Regions from separate parts of the Homo sapiens genome. Here region 1 is linked to region 2. Evidence: promoter capture Hi-C in 16 types of primary human blood cells and fetal thymus (Javierre and others, 2016). All regions are on one chromosome and are shown on one strand. Each heading gives the region's core, a stretch centred on a gene start or on the middle of the fragment in contact. The rest is flanking DNA. Distances are from core to core; before and after follow the strand shown. Region 1 overlaps MINDY3 (MINDY lysine 48 deubiquitinase 3). Region 2 holds the start of VIM (vimentin).

Region 1 (6,538 bases), core at 886-3,385, 1.4 Mb before region 2:
AAATGACACAAGATACACACAGCAGGCTGTAAATACTTTCAAGCAATCAAAACTTTCCCTATTTCCTTACTCCCTTAAAATTCTCAGTTTATTTTCAACTTCATTATAACATGAATTTATATTTCAACATCTTTATTATGAATATAACTAAAATCGATATAATACTGAGAATATAGAAGGGTGATTAAATAACATTTCAGTTCAGCTATGCTACGGCAGTTATAAAGTATGAAAAATTACTGATAATCAGTGCCTCACATATCATAATGTGTCCTGCACTTTTAAATAATCTTTCAGATTATATAAATCCAAGTAATATCATCAGAGCTAACCTTCCTTTTTATAATATAAAATCTTTAGGTTTAAGGCTTAATTATTAAACAAACATGTATAAAAAGGCATAACACTTTCAAACTACACAGGTTCAATGACAGCTTTAAGTTTGTTTCCTCATTTATTTGTATAACTGTTAAAAAGTTTTCAGTAACTTATTTAGATTATGTTTATTAATCAAAGGAAATAGAAGAAAGCATTTTAATCAGAGGTAATGTTTATTGAGCACTTTACTAAGTGCCAGGCCCTTTTCTAAATGCCCTACATGTCTTACCTCATTTAATCCTCATATAAACCCTCTTAGCTCCATTTTACAGAAGAGGAACCTGAGGCACACAGAAAAATCCTCTCAAGAGTACATAGGATTAAACAGCAGAGATGAGACTTGAGCACAGATAGTCTTGGCTCCAGGGAGTTATTTATCACAATGAATAACTTCACATATATTTCATAAAGCAAATCTTACTACTATCAAATATAAATTCTCACTGGTGAGTTAAGAAAATTGATTCATTATGAAGTCAAAATTTTAGATTTTTATTTACAATTTAAAATGTCACATTATGCTAGCTTTCCAAAGCCTAGTTGTGAGTGTTTCATATTTCGTTTTAAAATCTTTAGCAGTCCAAATGTATTAAGTTATTTCTTGGTTTATGTGGGAAACAAACTGAAATTGAACCTGAGTATTCACTACTGCGAACAACTGTGCATTACCAACAAGCCAAAACTATACACACCACATAAGCCAATGAAATTAATGTTTGTAGAGAAAGTAATATTAACAAGAGGGGAAAACACTTTACATTAAAACTTTCAGAAAATGAAAATTCTACCTAATCTTTTCCAAATTATACTGCTTGTTCTGCAACATTAGATTATCTAAATAGTTTTACTGGGTATACTACAAGAGTAGACATAAAGATAATAATTTAGAGAAAAGAGGCAAGCAAAATAAAAAGCTTAGCAGGCAGGGATGGTGAAAAAATATAAAACACAAGAAAAAGAACAAAGCTGGGAATAAAGGAAAGAACAGGTAAAATAGATTGTTACACGGAATAAAAATTGTAATATAAATACAGTTCATTTGTCACTAAGGTAAATTCTCAAATTTTCAGTTAACAAAGTATTTCAAATGTATACATTATTTAAAAAATTTAAAATATGGTTTACTTCATGGCAACTTTTAAAATGAGATACAAAGTAAACTGGAAAAATTACTAAAATGTTTTCTGGAGGGTAATTCAATATAATATGCCCATCTAAATTAGTTACTGAAGTACCAAAGGGAATGCATTATAAGGCCCTTTAACCTATAGCAACGTGACGTATCACCACAGAACTGCATAGCATATTTCATAGTATGCACTCAGTATACTGTTAAGATACTAATGGAAAATGTTATATAAAAAGATCTTACTATTTTCTCACATCAATATACAGACTGGCTTTAAGCACAAAATCTTTAAAATACCTTTTCAAAAGATCAACAATTCCTCTTTCAAAATTTTAATATCCTAAATGAACCTATTAAGTGTGCTAACACCCACACAGTAAAACCTGGAGAATATGTTAAAACCAATCTTAGTGACACTTTGGACTAGCATCCTTGTGACTGTTTTCCACTTGTTGTCTTCAAATGTCATTATAAACTCTAAAATATGTTAAGTTCTTTTTGAAAGGCCATATTTCAAAGGCTTCAAAAGGAAGCATCATATAGCTGTTCAAATGTTCAAAATTATTCCTTGCAAATGTTACTACTATTAGAATTTGCCAGGCTTAAGGCATTTTAACTGCAGAGGTAGGAGAAAAAAGACACTGACAACACAGAGGCATTTTAGTCCAGGGAGGCAACAGCACCTTATAGATAATACTATATGGAAAGCAAAATGTGTATCCCATACAATTGAAGTGTACTTTCAGGTACGTAATCTCTTTACGAAAACTTTCCACAAAGATGATAGTTAATGTGATGCTCTGTGGGTAGAATAAGTCACTTATTTAACATAAGCACTTGGGACTACCAATTATAAAAAACCATCAACTAGCAAGATTATTCCTGAAAAGCAAATCAGAAAAGCAACTCTTAACTAGCTTCCGTACCACTAGCTGTCTCCATTTCACACTGGCAGCTTTCGGGTCAATTACATAACAATTTTCAAAAGTTAAAAACCACAGAATATATAATTTTTATGAATAATGAGAATAGCTATTATTTAACGTAAACAGCTATTATTTAACTTATCTTCAAGGTATGAAAAACTTAAGGCATAATTAAAATTGCCTTAAAATAATCTATATGTATAAAAATATCCAAATAATTCGGAAAGAAAAGAAACAGCTTGCAATGAGGAGAAATGTCCCCATCTTTGCTCTGGGAAGCAAGTAAAGATAACTTTATGAAATCTTCTGATGTCCAAAAAAATCCGTTTTTGCAATACCAAAGCAAAACATTAAGGCATCTGAAACTGAAGCATATCATTATTTCTAAATAAGAGTTCTAAAGCTCAAAAGAGATTATTATCAAGCAGAAGTTAACCAGAACATTTTTAAAAGTTTAAGAGATGCATTTTTTTTTGCAAAAATGTAGTATCTTCTAAGTAGTTAAAATAAATGATATGGAAATAAAAAATAGTGAGGCTCAGTAATTAAGCTTAAGCTGGAAAAGAATACATGTTATGAAAATTTTAAGTAATTTTTTCTTCAAAATATTCAATAGATTCATTAAAACAAAGGAACAAGAAAAAAACTTCAGGAAATAAAAATATATCTTACAAGAATGTTCCACTTGGCAACTAGACTCTGCAGGACTCCCAGAAATACTAGCAGTTTCCTCAGTTGTCTTTCCTCTTAACCATGAAACCAAGCAGTATGATCCAGAGTGGTCACAACAAGCACTTTCTAAAATATCACACAAGGTATGACAAAGGAGTTCCTTCTGCTCTTCCTCTAAAAATAACCAAAGCATAAGTTATAATGGTTTCCTCTGGAAAAAAAAAAATTCTGTCATGAATAACAATAGTAAGAATGGGTTAATGATGAAAATCAAGCATTTTAAAAATGGGGGAAAAATCTCTAAATAGATTTTAAATTATGTCTTAGAAAAACAATGTGTTTGTGGATTAAAATATCACCACTTTAAATAAAGCCATCCAAATAACACCACCAAGTAGAAAAAGAATACTGAAAAATGCAGAACTAAACATTATGAAAGATCATAATGTGACACTGATCATCACTTTCTTAAAACTTTAGCAACTGCAGCATTTAAGCCAAGAGGTTTCCTCTACTGAAGAACTGAGCACAATGTAAAGGCCTGTTGAAACCTCTATTTTTTTTCCCTCACATCTGAATTAATCTAACGTCTATGATCACCCCGTCCCAAAGGGATAAGAATAATGAGATGAGAGACCGTCAGCACATATGTTACCAAAGTCCATTACATCAGCAGAAGCCAGTGGTTAGAATACAGATTTGAGCATTAGAATTTTATAGAAAATGGCGCAAATGCTCAGACCATCTCTTTATGAACCTTAGCCACACTCTTTTCAAGCAGTATTACTCTCAAGAAGTAGTATTACTTTCTGAAACTTTCAAAAATTTTATGATACAAGGAGGTTTCTGTCTCTCCTAATGGATTAACAGTTCTTTAACTGCAGGAACTATGCTGTTCACTTTCTAATCACCACAGTATTTATGACACTTATGACAATGCTTTACAAATGTTTTATCAAAGTGAATATAGTGAATATAGTATAAGAAATAGTATAAATTTTATTAAAAGTTCATTTCAAAAATAGTATCTCAAATAGTTTCTTCTCTACTAAAATTTGTTTTGTATTTCACCTATTAATTTAAAACTTATGGAAGTGATCCCTTAACTCTTAAATTCAAAATCATTAGTAGATTCTATAGTCATGGTTTGGAATGTAAGCTGTTACATCCTTAGATACAAAACTGGGATTGTAATGTGTCCTAACTTCTTCCAGAATTTACTGTGAGGTTCACAGGAAATTGTGTAAGTGAAGGAAAGATCTTTGTAAACTGTCACGTGGAATGCAAATTCTTGTTATTATAAGGTGGCACCACACATCTCTCTGGGTACAGAAGCTCATGTTACAGAAGCTATGACAGCTTCATTTGCAATTTCATCCAAAATTATTTGCAGTATTTGCATTGTGTAAGGCATTATACTAAAACATGCAGGAATATAATGATAATTCTGAGGTCTTGCCCACAGCTAAATAAGACTACAAAAAAAAAAAAAAAAAAAAGACTGTTCTTTATGGCATGCTGCCACCTAACAGTTCTAGGAAATGCACCGTGTTTTACCAAGAGGCCAAACGTTTTTCCCTTAGTTATACCATCATGTCTTATAACCCCTGGTTAGAAAGCCAAATTTGGAAATATGGAGTCACTGTTCATGAAACTTTCTAAAACATTTTAAAAGGAAACCTCAGGAAAAAAAATTCCCACTGATACTTGACTTTCTCAGATAATTTTAGATCATCTCTATTAAAACAGAGGAGGAAGCAAAAGTTTTAAAAGACAGCTATCATACCTGAACAATCCCGCCAAGAAGACTTCTCCGAAGAAAACAGGAGCTTCTTCAAAAGAAATGCCTTTACACAATTAAAGCAATAATTAGTGAAATGCATTATAACCATACATCATATCATTCTTCAATTTTAAAGTGGGAAAAAATAATGTGTACTCCCTTTCTAATCTTTTGACTAGTTCTGTAAAGATGTCAAATGGGTTCCCCTCACATTTGACAGGAACTGTGCAGTTATTTATTCAGAGTATACTGCTATAAACTTGATTCTAGATTCATAAAATTCTTCTTCTTCCACAATACATATTTTCTGACAAGTAGAAGAACTAACTCACATAACAGAATAACTGAAAAGCACACAAACTTACTGCTCTATTCACAAAGTGAAAGCCCTGTAGAACACGAACAAGTCTACATTTCATTTAGATTCCTTCAGGTAAAAGAAATCTAAATATAAAAGTGGTTCTGTTCCCTTAGTCTTCATCTGTGACACAAGATTAACACTATTAGAGTCATCACTTTATTATCAGGAGCTCAAGTTTAACTCAAAAAGGTACAAGATTCAGAAGAAAAGACAAATGGATTTCTAAACTTCCCCTTAAGCGAGTCAACGATGTTACATTGGTTATTTGATAAAAAGCTGCACAGTGAAGTGTCTACTTCTCAAAGTGTAGTTCAACGGTAGCTATATCCCAGTCACCTGACTTGTTTAAATTGCAGTTTCTTGGGCTCCACCTATTCTCTCTGAATCTCTAGAGGGCAGGTCCAAGAAAAAACAGGTTACAATGACGACTTTTCCTCACCTGTGTTTGAAAGTATTAGTGTACAGATTAGGAAGACTGCTTTTTATCAGGCAAACTTAGGTTTGAATCCTGGCTCCACTATTACTAACTAAAAATAACTGTACAAACTTTAAAAGTTTGCAGCGAAGATTATATGAGAAAATCTATGTAATGCACTTAGCACAGTACCTGGCACCAATAAACAATTCAAGGTGTTACAACAAAAAACTAAGTCATATTCCATTTACATAGGCATAAAGTCTACAAATATGCTAATCAAGCGCTTCTGATTTTTCCGCAAAAGGGCAACAACCATCAAGTAGAAAAGTATAACTACATCACAACATTTGAGAAGTGAGATGGGGATATTCATTATTTCACAGCCAATATAACTACTGTTAGCATTTTGACATGCTTCCTTCCCATCTTTTTTAATATCTAGTTTTAATTTTATTACAAGTGAAAAATCATAATGGGTATATGAATGTATTTTCTGTTTTTCTACAGAATTCGTAAGCATAATTCTTAATCACTACTTGTCTATCAAGCTATTTATCAAAGTTTACTTATTATTTAAATTACATTATTGTGCATTAGGTTGCTTGCAATTTTTTTGCTACTTTAACATATAAGCTCCTTTTTAAATACAACTTTTTCCATATTAAATATTTCTTTAGAAAAGATTCACAGAAACACAACTATTACATCAGAATCTGCACTGTCATGGTTCCAATTATAATTTAAAATTCCTACCCACAAATTTGTACTATATAGCAGTATATGAGTGTGCCAGCATCTTCCCACCCTTACATGCACTGGCAATTGTAATTTTATTTTTAAAGATGACAAAAAGTAAGAAATAGAACCTAGT
Region 2 (6,429 bases), core at 3,930-6,429:
TCGTTTTCTGTTTCTGCATTAATTTGCTTAGGTTTATGGTTTCTACTTGTATCCGTGTTGCTACAAAGGACATGATTTCATTCTTTTTAATGCTTATGTAATATTCTACAGTGTATATGTACCATGTTTTCTTTATCCAATCCACTGTTAATGGGCACCTGAGTTGATTCCATGTCTTTGTTATTGTGAATAGCGCTGCAATGATTATTTCTCCACCTATGCTCTTTAGCATTTTATCCTATCTGTGCTACAGCACTCACTTACCACATTCTGCTATGTATTCCAACTCTTTACCTGCTTTCTAATCCTTATACAAAGCTATGAGATCCCTAGAGGCACAAAAAGCACCTTACTTACTGAAATATACTAAGAAACATTGCAGGCAGTGCAAAAAAATATGAATACATCTATCTGTTAAATGGAATATGAGGAAAGACCTGAGGGTGGGGGAAATGTACTATATTCATGGAAGAAGAAGGAGCTTAGGGTTCTACTGAAATTGCTGCTTGTGGGGAACAGTGGAAAATGAGGATAGATATATATACTTGACATAACTTCCAAAGGCCACTAGTTAACTATGATCCTCAACCTCCTCTGCAGGAAAATTTCTGTTTCCCTCATAGTCTTTATCACCAGTTGCAATCATTTTGTTTGTTCCTTTACGAGTATTGTCTCTCTGTATCATATACATATACGCAGACTCAACACTATGTTCCAAGAGGCTTTGGGCCATACCTGCTTTGGTCCCTTCCCCAGTGTCTACCAGACTGCCCGGCACATGGCAAATACTCAATAAGTATGTTTGGAGTAAAAGAATAAAAGTTGTGTATCACGATACCTTGTGAAGATTAAATGCAGTCATGTCTAAAGTGACTAGCACAATGCTTAAACATAATAAGCACCAGTAAATATTAGCCCCACACCTATATTTCTTCCTTCTATGAACTACTCATGTATTAATGTATATATTCGACAGATGTGCCTGGCTTTTCTCTAGCCACTGGAAATACAATAGTCAACAAAAGAGAGAAAAATTCCTACCTGCCCTTAGGGAGATTACATTCCAGTGAGGAAATGAGCAATTCCTGCCAAGAAGTTTAAAGAAGGAAGTTTTTGGCCAAATGTGGAGGCTCACACATTTAATCCCAACATTTTGGGAGGCCAGTGCTGGAGGATTGCTTGAGCCCAGGAGTTCAAGACCAGCTTGGGCAACATAGCAAGACCCTGGCTCTACAAAAAATAAAAAGTTAGCTGGGCATGGATGGCACTCCCAGCTTCTAGGGAGGCTGAGGCAGTAGGAATACTTGAGCTCAAGAGTTAAGAGGCTGCAGTGAGCTATGACTGCGCCACCGCACTCCAGCCTAGGCAACAGAGCAAGCCTTTGTCTCTCTCTCTCTCTCTCTCTCTCTCTATATATATATATATAAGTTTTAAAGAAAAAGGGGTGATGGCTTGAAGATAGATGCATTGGTGGCAGAAAAGAAAGCATGGAGGGGCCGGGCGCAGCGGCTCACACCTGTAATCCCAGCACTTCGGGAGGCCAAGGCGGGTGGATCACGAGGTCAGGAGATTGAGACCATCCTGGCTAACACGGTGAAACCCCGTCTCTACTAAAAAAATACAAAAACTTAGCCGGGCTTGGTGGCGGGCGCCTTTGGTCCCAGCTACTGGGAAGGCTGAGGCAGGAGAATGGCGTGAACCTGGGAAGCGGAGCTTGCAGTGAGCCGAGATCGCGCCACTGCACTGCAGCCCCGGGGGACAGAGCGAGACCCCGTCTCAAAAAAAAAAAAAAAAAGAAAAGAAAGAAAGCAAGAAAGCATGGAGGAACGGAAGCCAATTGCAGTATTGCAGGAAGGAGGTATGAAATGGCTTGGATCTGAGTGACAGCAACGTAACAGAGGAGTGGATCCAGGAAGAGCGGGGCATGATACCCATTGGATCTGAGATGGAAGAGTTAGTTAGGAAGTGGCAATGATGAAAGTTTCCAATCTTGTTGTTTTGCTGTATTGCCCTGAATAGACAGGGAAGCTGGCAGGGGAAGCGATGGTGGTTCATGGGCTTTAGGGCGTGAGACGAGCTAAACCCAGTCTTGAATGTGATTCCTCCTAAGAGGCAAAATGGAATCTAAATGAAAATTTTTAACTCACTAATGAAAGTAATGTTTTAGAATGCAGGTGAAAACAAATCTCCCTTCTTACATAGTATGATCACTGTTACGTCATTTGATTTTGTTTTTTACATCATTTTACATCGTAAACATGGTGTTATAGCTGTCTGCCAAATTCCTCTAAAAATATGCCCCTTCGCAGCAAGATCTGTGTTAATCATCCCATCTCTTCAGTTCCTGGAACACAGTAGGTCCCTAAATGATAAGTCCAGCACTTAATATTTGTGAATTGAACTGGTTGATAGTAAGCAAAATTTTGTTATCAAGGCAAACAGAAAAGAGAAGTGCATTTAGAGTCAGAAAGGCCTCGATTCAAATTCTTGTCCCCTTCTTCCCACCCCTGCTAGTCATACAACCACAAGAAAATTGCTAGCCTGCATCTTAGGCTCCTCATTAGTGAAATGGATGATCAAGTCTATCTTGCAGGAGGGTGTGAGTGCATCAAGTTAAATTAAATATATACACAGTGTCTGTCATTCAGTTGGCATCGACATTACCTATTATACTATTTATTATTATTACCTGTATTTCCATGGATTTTAGGTTTTGCTATGGTTTTCATGCTCTCAGTGTACCCTCCTTCTTCTTTCTAACATTCCATCCAAACAGTCCTGCTAGATGCTGTTCTCTTGGCATGGCTAGCCAGCTTTCCCAAAGCCTCCATAGGCCACTAAGCTTCTGTCCACACGGCTGGCTGGTCCGTCAGTTTAAGTCACCCAATTCAACTGACATCATGACAGCTTGCAAATTCCAAAATCACTGTTGGTAATTTAGATGTGGTAGTGTTTATGCCTGGCCTATGAATTATACCACCACGTCTTTATTTATATGCAACTTGCATCATGCTGTGTTGAAAGCAGCTTCCCAGTCCAGCACTTGAAAATACTTCTCAGATAGGTTTTCATAGCAATTAAAAAATAAACACAAAACCCGGGAAAGCTATGTCTGTGTACCCAAAAGATACCTAAGAACACAGTAGCATAGAGAGCAGGCTGAGTTGTCTCACTCAAGGATGTGAGTTCAGATTCATTGATCTCCCTGACTGAAAACTATCACCCATTGATTGAGGCACTGTATATCTTATCTCAGAATGAAATGAATTCTTAAGTCTCATGAATTCTACATGAATGAATGAAAGTGTTTCTGCAACTTTCACTTCTCTTGCAGCCCACCAAAAACAATGGCATTTTCTAATAGGAAAAACACATTGAACGCTGTATATGTGCGTATGTATATGTGTGTGTAGTACATACATATACTTTATTTTGAGACAGGTTCTCACTCTGTTGCACAGGGTGGAGTGCAGTGGTGTGCACAGCCTACTGCAGCCTCAATTTCCCAGGCTCAAGCAATCCCCCTGCCTTAGTCTCCCAAGTAGCTGGGACCACAGGTGTGCACCATCACGCCTGGCTTTTTTTGGTTTCATATATATATGTTGCCTAAGCTGGTCTCAAACTCCTGATCTCAAGCAATCCTCCTGCTTTGGCCTCCCAAAGTGCTGGGACTACAGAACACCTACACTTTTATACATTCTATATGCATCAAACAAACATATGTCTGTGACAAGAGAGCAGCCTATCACAGCCCAGAGACTTCAGAATGGGGACAGGTTGGAAGGAGGAGCTACCTATCCCTGAGATGATGAAGAGGACCAGTGCCCATTCCAGGAGACATCACCGCAGCCCTGAGGAATCGGCTATGGGCACCAGCAGGGCACAGTGCCACACCTCGCCAATGCCTTGTCCTCCTTTTCCATAGTGAGTCAGTCAGCAAGCGTCGCATTGCCCTGGGATCGGCACTGCACGTAGAAGTGAGTTCCACACTCTCTTCCTCCCATAGGGAGATCACTTTTCTCATTCTAAGGGTTCCAGGCACACTCACAATGGTGGCATTTGCTGAGCAGTGGCTTGAATAAAGGGCTCTCAGAAAGCAAGATGTAACTCAGAGCATAGGCTTGTCCTCCAGGGCACCCAGCCCCAGGAATGCTCTTGGGGAATGACCTGCAGCCTCCCAGTGAAAGAGAGAATAAAAGAAAGCCCCAGCAGGCGAGCTGGGCAGTAGAGAGTCCTGTAATTCCACCTTGGCAAGCACCATTTGCAAGAACGAACTGGGATAAGGTAAACAAAATATTGCCTAAAAGAGGCTTGTCCAAAGAAGTCAGAATACGCTCTTCATTTACCTCTAAATTATGTTTCTTAAATACCAAGTAACCTGCAGTACCCCCTGCCGCCACCAAAAAAAAAGAGAGAAATACTTTTTTTTCTCCTATCCACTGCAGAATCAATTTTACAGTGGTTCTGCAGTTAATCCTTTCAGTACACCATAAATCTAAATACTCAAAAAAACCTGTGCCTTTTCAATTGCTACTAAATCACGAGAAGACTGATTTACATAGTCTCCTTTTATCTCCCTTGGCGGGTAAGTACTCAGCTCTGCTCGTTACTAATATTGAAACAACAGCCCTTGAATTGAGTGATTTCCCTAGAAAGGTTAAGGTGACCGAATCTGAACACTCCCTCCATGTCTTGGACACGAAGTTTTTTGCTGCGTAGACAGTTTTATCCCCCTCACCCCAAGGTCAATTGCACGAATTCTTTTGGAAAACAGGACCTATGGCATTTCCCAGACAAATCACCGTGAACCCTGTACTGTGCATTGCTGTCCTAAAATTAACACATAAATCTATTGCCGCCAAAGATTCTGTCATTTGTGTTACATAATTGCCTTTCATTTGAACTCATTAATCAAATTGGGGTTTTTAAGCAACACCTAATTAATTCTTTAACTGGCTCATATTATACCTTTAATGACTTCCACCAGGGTAAAAACCACTGATCACTGAGTTCTATTTTGAAACTACGGACGTCGAGTTTCCTCTTTCACCCAGAATTTTCAGATCTTGTTTAAAAAGTTGGGTGTGGTTTCATGGGGGGAGGGGGAAGAGCGAGAGGAGACCAGAGGGACGGGGGCGGGGACTCTGCAAGAAAAACCTTCCCGGTGCAATCGTGATCTGGGAGGCCCACGTATGGCGCCTCTCCAAAGGCTGCAGAAGTTTCTTGCTAACAAAAAGTCCGCACATTCGAGCAAAGACAGGCTTTAGCGAGTTATTAAAAACTTAGGGGCGCTCTTGTCCCCCACAGGGCCCGACCGCACACAGCAAGGCGATGGCCCAGCTGTAAGTTGGTAGCACTGAGAACTAGCAGCGCGCGCGGAGCCCGCTGAGACTTGAATCAATCTGGTCTAACGGTTTCCCCTAAACCGCTAGGAGCCCTCAATCGGCGGGACAGCAGGGCGCGGTGAGTCACCGCCGGTGACTAAGCGACCCCACCCCTCTCCCTCGGGCTTTCCTCTGCCACCGCCGTCTCGCAACTCCCGCCGTCCGAAGCTGGACTGAGCCCGTTAGGTCCCTCGACAGAACCTCCCCTCCCCCCAACATCTCTCCGCCAAGGCAAGTCGATGGACAGAGGCGCGGGCCGGAGCAGCCCCCCTTTCCAAGCGGGCGGCGCGCGAGGCTGCGGCGAGGCCTGAGCCCTGCGTTCCTGCGCTGTGCGCGCCCCCACCCCGCGTTCCAATCTCAGGCGCTCTTTGTTTCTTTCTCCGCGACTTCAGATCTGAGGGATTCCTTACTCTTTCCTCTTCCCGCTCCTTTGCCCGCGGGTCTCCCCGCCTGACCGCAGCCCCGAGACCGCCGCGCACCTCCTCCCACGCCCCTTTGGCGTGGTGCCACCGGACCCCTCTGGTTCAGTCCCAGGCGGACCCCCCCCTCACCGCGCGACCCCGCCTTTTTCAGCACCCCAGGGTGAGCCCAGCTCAGACTATCATCCGGAAAGCCCCCAAAAGTCCCAGCCCAGCGCTGAAGTAACGGGACCATGCCCAGTCCCAGGCCCCGGAGCAGGAAGGCTCGAGGGCGCCCCCACCCCACCCGCCCACCCTCCCCGCTTCTCGCTAGGTCCCTATTGGCTGGCGCGCTCCGCGGCTGGGATGGCAGTGGGAGGGGACCCTCTTTCCTAACGGGGTTATAAAAACAGCGCCCTCGGCGGGGTCCAGTCCTCTGCCACTCTCGCTCCGAGGTCCCCGCGCCAGAGACGCAGCCGCGCTCCCACCACCCACACCCACCGCGCCCTCGTTCGCCTCTTCTCCGGGAGCCAGTCCGCGCCACCGCCGCCGCCCAGGCCATCGCCACCCTCCGCAGCCATGTCCACCAGGTCCGTGTCCTCGTCCTCCTACCGCAGGATGTTCGGCGGCCCGGGCACCGCGAGCCG

What was found. Contacts are between HindIII fragments. The CHiCAGO score rates a contact against its expected background, and 5 or more counts as called.
Region 1: a contact is called between a fragment that was not itself captured here and the fragment with the promoter of VIM in region 2, in 3 of 17 cell types (M0 macrophages, total CD8 T cells and naive CD8 T cells). The highest score is 7.1, in M0 macrophages.

The regions. Positions count from the first base shown.
Region 1 is chr10:15,838,321-15,844,858 of GRCh38, forward strand. It overlaps MINDY3 (MINDY lysine 48 deubiquitinase 3), which reads right to left. Exons shown (of 15, transcript NM_024948.4): 3 at 4,892-4,952; 4 at 3,106-3,279. The region is part of intron 2 of LOC124902383 (a long non-coding RNA gene); the gene reads left to right. Among named protein-coding and RNA genes, the nearest start is that of MINDY3, 19 kb to the right of the region's middle. The HindIII fragment of the contact is 1,691 bases long and covers 1,291-2,981 here.
Region 2 is chr10:17,223,062-17,229,490 of GRCh38, forward strand. It overlaps VIM (vimentin), which reads left to right and starts at 5,180. Exons shown (of 10, transcript NM_003380.5): 1 at 5,180-5,463; 2 at 6,215-6,429. The coding sequence starts at 6,362. VIM-AS1 (VIM antisense RNA 1) reads right to left here. Exons shown (of 3, transcript NR_108061.1): 1 at 6,284-6,429. RefSeq lists a silencer at 3,659-3,873. The HindIII fragment of the contact is 5,594 bases long and covers 2,841-6,429 here.